Linked DNA regions of Homo sapiens: region 2 is linked to region 1. Evidence: promoter capture Hi-C in human tissues and cell types (Jung and others, 2019). All regions are on one chromosome and are shown on one strand. The core of a region is centred on a gene start or on the middle of the fragment in contact, and the rest is flanking DNA. Distances in the headings are between cores, read along the strand shown. Region 1 holds the start of HYOU1 (hypoxia up-regulated 1). Region 2 has its middle 13 kb from the start of DDX6.

What was found. Contacts are between HindIII fragments. The study calls those that stand out against the background at their distance.
Region 2: a fragment that was not itself captured here is called in contact with the fragment with the promoter of HYOU1 in region 1 in 1 of the 25 tissues and cell types used here (small bowel).

The regions. Positions count from the first base shown.
Region 1 is chr11:119,055,815-119,058,563 of GRCh38, reverse strand. It overlaps HYOU1 (hypoxia up-regulated 1), which reads left to right and starts at 1,359. Exons shown (of 26, transcript NM_006389.5): 1 at 1,359-1,544; 2 at 2,397-2,494; 3 at 2,721-2,749. The coding sequence starts at 2,404. RefSeq lists enhancers at 852-901, 1,261-1,760, 1,761-2,261 and silencers at 1,132-1,411, 1,502-1,781. The HindIII fragment of the contact is 15,957 bases long and covers 1-2,749 here.
Region 2 is chr11:118,802,264-118,805,313 of GRCh38, reverse strand. No RefSeq gene overlaps it. Among named protein-coding and RNA genes, the nearest start is that of DDX6, 13 kb to the right of the region's middle. The HindIII fragment of the contact is 7,533 bases long and covers 1-3,050 here.

The DNA of each region.
Region 1 (2,749 bases), core at 110-2,609:
ACACCGGACCACTCTCCACCTAAGCATCACGAAAAATGTAGAGAAAGGAAGAGCTAAGAGCTCCTTAAACAAGTTCAGGCTTGACACAACCCTGGCCCTGACAGCCAGGGTCTTCAAGCGGGCCTTTCTGTGAAGGGTGGCCAGGCATCAACTTAGTAGGAGAGAAAACAGATGACTTATTTCCATCCACACTTAAGGAAAATGCAGTCTCCAAGGACTGCGTACATTTCTTTTTCGAGAAGGAGTCTCGCTGTTGTCGCCCAGGCTGGAGTGCAGTGGCGCAGTCTGGGCTCACAGCAACCTCTGCCTCCCGGATTCAAGCAATTCTCCTGCCTCAGCCTCGTGAGTAGCTGGGATTACAGGCACCCGCCACCACGCCTGGCTAATTTTTGTAGTTTTGGTAGAGACGGGGTTTCACCATGTTGGCCAGGCTGGTCTCGAACTCCTGACCTCCAGTGATTCGCCCGCCTTGGCCTCCCAAAATGCTGGGATTACAGGCGTGAGCCACCGCGCCCGGGCGACTGCGCACATTTCTATGGAGCTGTAAGTTAAAAGAGAAGGCAGTGAGGTGCTTCTGTCATTCTATGACAGAAACAGCTAAAGAGTAGAGAAATGTTCACAAGATTTAATAGAACAGAAATAGGAGAAGGTGCACACAAGCTCAACCAACTATAGCCTCACAAATAAAAGTGTCTTTTGTGTGTAGTACTTAAGTTTGGAATATTCTTTCTTATACAAATGAGTGGGGCTTAACCTAAGAAATCCTGGCCAGATTCTGCGACGAATGCATCGGTTATCTCTGACCCATCAGCAAACATCTTTTTCTGTGGCTTCAGTTTCCTCAGTAAAACAGAGGGGGTTGCGACGGACTCAGTCCGAGGGACAGCCATTCTCCAACGTCTATCCAAAGCCTAGGGCACCTCAATACTAACCGGCAGGCCAGCGCCCCCTCCGCGGGGCTGCGGACAGGACGCCTGTTATTCCATTCCTCGGCCGGGCTCTACAGGTGACCGGAAGAAGAGCCCCGAGTGCGGGACTGCAGTGCGCCCGACCTGCTCTAGGCGCAGGTCACTCCCGAACCCCGGCAGCAAAGCATCCAGCGCCGGAAAAGGTCCCGCGGTCGCCCCGGGGCCGGCGCTGGGGAGGAAGGAGTGGAGCGCGCTGGCCCCGTGACGTGGTCCAATCCCAGGCCGACGCCGGCTGCTTCTGCCCAACCGGTGGCTGGTCCCCTCCGCCGCCCCATTACAAGGCTGGCAAAGGGAGGGGGCGGGGCCTGGGACGTGGTCCAATGAGTACGCGCGCCGGGGCGGCGGGGGCGGGGCCGGGCGCGCAGCGCAGGGCCGGGCGGCCGAGGCTCCAATGAGCGCGCGCCGCGTCCGGGGCCGGCTGGTGCGCGAGACGCCGCCGAGAGGTTGGTGGCTAATGTAACAGTTTGCAAACCGAGAGGAGTTGTGAAGGGCGCGGGTGGGGGGCGCTGCCGGCCTCGTGGGTACGTTCGTGCCGCGTCTGTCCCAGAGCTGGGGCCGCAGGAGCGGAGGCAAGAGGTAGCGGGGGTGGATGGAGGTGCGGGCCGGCCACCCCTCCTAGGGGAGACAGCGTGCGAGCTCCGGGGGCGGGTCGGGAGCGCAAGGGAGGGCCGCGCGGACGCCGGGCGCTCGGCCTCGCACCGGGGGGCACGCAGCTCGGCCCCCGGTCTGTCCCCACTTGCTGGGGCGGGCCGGGATCCGTTTCCGGGAGTGGGAGCCGCCGCCTTCGTCAGGTGGGGTTTAGGTGAACACCGGGTAACGGCTACCCGCCGGGCGGGGAACCTTACCGCCCCTGGCACTGCGTCTGTGGGCACAGCGGGGCCGGGGAGTGAGCTGGGAAAGGGGAGGGGGCGGGACAACCCGCAGGGATGCCGAGGAGGAGATAGGCCTTTCCTTCATCCTAGCTACCCCCAACGTCATTACCTTTCTCTTCCCGTCCAGGCCCAGCTGGCTTTCCCCGTCAGCGGGGGAGCTCCAGGTGTGGGGAGGTGGTTGAGCCCTGGGCGGGGATCCCTGGCCGCACCCCAGGTGTCTGACAACAGGCACAGTGCTGCGGTGCGCCACTCACTGCCTGTGTGGTGGACAAAAGGCTCGGGTCTCCTTTCTCTTGTCCTGTTAGCTTCTCTGTTTAGGGATGTGGCAAAGCCGAGGACCCATGCTCTTTCACTTGGGCCTTTGTGTGGGCGCTGCTGGGATGATTAGAGAATGGTTTGTACCCATCAGGAGGGAGAAGGGGAGAAGTAGGCTGATCTGCCCTGGGTAAGAATGAAGTAGATATGAATCTTACAGCCTCTCCGTTCTGGGATGTGATTCTGTCTCCTTCACTCCGGGTATCCAGTTTTAAGTGTTTTCTTTCTTCGCCTCCCCCAGGGGCACTATGGCAGACAAAGTTAGGAGGCAGAGGCCGAGGAGGCGAGTCTGTTGGGCCTTGGTGGCTGTGCTCTTGGCAGACCTGTTGGCACTGAGTGGTATGTACCCCAGTAGAGGGAGCAAATGGATAAATGATGACTGAAGGATGCATGATGGGAATTGAGCTTGGGGCTGTTGGCCAGAAGTCTCTTGAGTTGTTAGGTCCAGGCCTTTTTGTCTTTTGCCATCTTCGTTTACCCATGGAAAGTGGTATGCTTTGATTAGAGGGAGTCCCAGGAAGGTGGGCGAAGGGAGAGCTAACTGACAAACCTCTTTTCCCTTCAGATACACTGGCAGTGATGTCTGTGGACCTG
Region 2 (3,050 bases), core at 13-2,512, 250 kb after region 1:
TAATAGTTATTAAACTGAACTGAATTTCTGTAAAGGTGAGGCATGAAAGAGGGAGGGGAAAGAGGGTGCCAAGAGAGACAGGGAGGAAGGAATTAGGATTGGAAGAAGACATCTTGTGTGCCAATCCATGAAGTTTGGATAAATTGGCTGATAAATTTGTTTTAAGAAGCCAGTTCTGGCCAGGCACGGTGGCTCACGCCTGTAATCCCAGCACTTTGGGAGGCTGAGGCGGGCGGATCACCTGAGGTCAGGAGTTCGAGACCAGCCTGGCCAACATGGTGAAACCCTGTCTCTACTAAAAATACAAAAATTAGTCGGGCATGGTGGCGGGTGCCTGTAATCCCAGCTACTCGGGAGGTTGAGGCTGGAGAATTGTTTGAACCCAGGAGGCGGAGGTTGCAGTGAGCCGAGATCGTGCCACTGCATTCTAGCCTGGGCGAGTGAAACTCCATCTAAAAAAAAAAAAAAAAAAAAAAAGAATAAGAAGCAGCAGCTGTGTGAGGAGAGGGGAGGAGTGCTCCAGATAGAGGAAACAGTAAATTCAAAGGTTGTGAAGTGGGAAAGAGTTGAGCTGATCCGAACCTCTAAGGGCCAGCATGGCTGGAGCCGAATGAGCAACTAGGGCATGGCATGAGTTGAAGAGGGAGGGATTGGTAGAATTCAGATTGTGTAGGTCCTTGTAGACCAGAGCAGGGAATGTGGAGTGTATCCTCAGCTCATTGGGAAGCAACTGAAAATGCAGAGTAATGATACTTTCATTTACATTAAAATAATCACTAAGGCTGTGCGCAGAATAGATGGGGGCTAACACGAGAATAAATAGGGAGCCCTAGTTAGGAGACTACAGCAGTAAACAGGCCAATGAAAGATATCTGTCTGGATGAAGGTGGAGGCAATGGGGCAACAAGGAGTGGACATATTCAGAAAATATTTTAGAGGTTGAATTCATAGGGCTTGGTGATAGATTAGATGTACAGAGATCTAGGATAAGGAAGTGGAAATTGAGGTAGTGTGTAGGTCTTTTGGAAAGTTTATTTTTGAAGAGGAGACTAAAGGGAAGTAGTTGATTCAAAAGCTCTTTCTAGCCAGGTGCGGCGACTCATGCCTGTAATCCCAGCACTTTGGGAGGCTGAGCAGGGTGGATCATTTGAGGTCAGGAGTTGGAGATCAACCTGGCCAATATGGTGAAACCCCGCCTCTACCAAAAAATACAAAAATTAGCTGGGCCTGTTGGTGAGGGCCTGTAGTCCCAGTTACTCAGGAGGCTGAGGCACAAGAATCGCTTCAACCTGGTAGGCAGAAGCTGCAGCGAGCCAAGATCGCACCACTACACTCCAGCTTGAGCCACAGTGAGGCCCTGTCTCAAAAATGAAACAAAACAAAAACTCAAAAGCCCCTTCAGTAAGCATTTACTGAGCACCTACTAAATGCCAGGCCATATGTGAGGTGCTGGACACACAAAGAAGAATAAGACATAGACAGACTCAGTTCTTGTGGAAGGCAAACCTACAACCAAATCAACTCTGCTACTTTGCAGTAATAGAAATTTGCACGATGGTGGCACAGATGACTGGGAAGTGATTAACTCTGCTCTTGGGTACTGGAGGGAAGAGATATCAGGGAATGAGGTTAAGACCAGATTCAGTGGAAGACGGGTCTAGAGGAGAAGGGAAATTGAGGAACATTCAGCACTATGACCTTGATTTTTCCATTAAATATGAGGCAGTCATCTGCCTTGAGTAGGTAATAGGTTAGATAGCTTGAAGGAATGAATGCTGCACATCCCTGGCTGGGTTCCCAATAGGTGACACAGCTGGATTTGAACCTTCAGCATCCAGCATGGTGTCCTGGTCCTGGTCACGGGGTATTTTACACTCATTGACAGATATCACTGAGGGCATATCCTTAAAAAGCTCTTGGACAGGAGCGGTGGCTCATGCCTGTAATCCCAGCCCTTTGGGAGGCCGAGGCGGGCAGATCACGAGGTCAGGAGTTGGAGACCAGCCTGACCAACATGGTGAAACCCCATCTATACTAAAAATACAAAAATTAGCCGGGCGTGGTGGTGCAAGCCTATAATCCCAGCTACTCAGGAGGCAGAGGCAGGGGAATCACTTGAACCCAGGAGGTGGAGGTTGCAGTGAGCCAAGATCTCACCACTTCACTCCAGCCTGGGCAACAGAGGGAGACTGTCTTAAAAAAAAAAAAAAAAAAAAAAAAAGCTCTATTTTCCCCCAAGTTACTTACTATTATTCACTCAATAGCATTTAATAAGCATTTATTGTGTACCTGGTATGGAATAAATGAATGAATAATAAGTGAATGAACAAAAGAATCAATCGAACAAGTAAAGAATTATAGTTTGTCCTTGGCATTAGAAACAAGATTTAACTTAAAATTTGAGAACTTAATGATCTTAGCTAGCTTCACCTTTCACATCCAGGTTTTGTAGTGGCTCAGACTGCCTATTATAAAAACAGCTATTGCTGATTGGGGCTTGTAATGAGCCAGTCCCTATGCTGAGCATTTTATGTAAACTATTAATATTTATCATTTAAGGCCAGGAGTGGTGGCTCACGCCCATAATCCCAGCATTTTGGGAGGCCGAGGCAGGCGGATCACTTGAGGTCGGGAGTTCAAGACCAGCCTGGCCAACATGGTGAAACCCTGTCTCTACTAAAAAATACAAAAATTAGCCAGGTGTGGTGGTGCACACTTGTAATCCCAGCTACTCTGGAGGCTAAGGCAGGAGAATCACTTGAACCCGGGTGAGGGAGGTTGCAGTGAGCTGAGATTGCACCACTGCACTCCAGCCTGGGCGACAGAGTGAGACTCTGTCTCAAAAAAAAAAAAAAAAAAAAAAATATATATATATATATATATATATATTTCATATTTACTCTTCTTACAAGCTCCCCAGAGGCAGATGTACCATCCCCATTAAACAGATGAGAGAACAGGCATAGGGAAGTTATTTGTAAATAATTTAGGAATTCAAACCCCAGTCTTACTATTCCATAGTCAGATCTCTACACTAAGCATATTTTTCA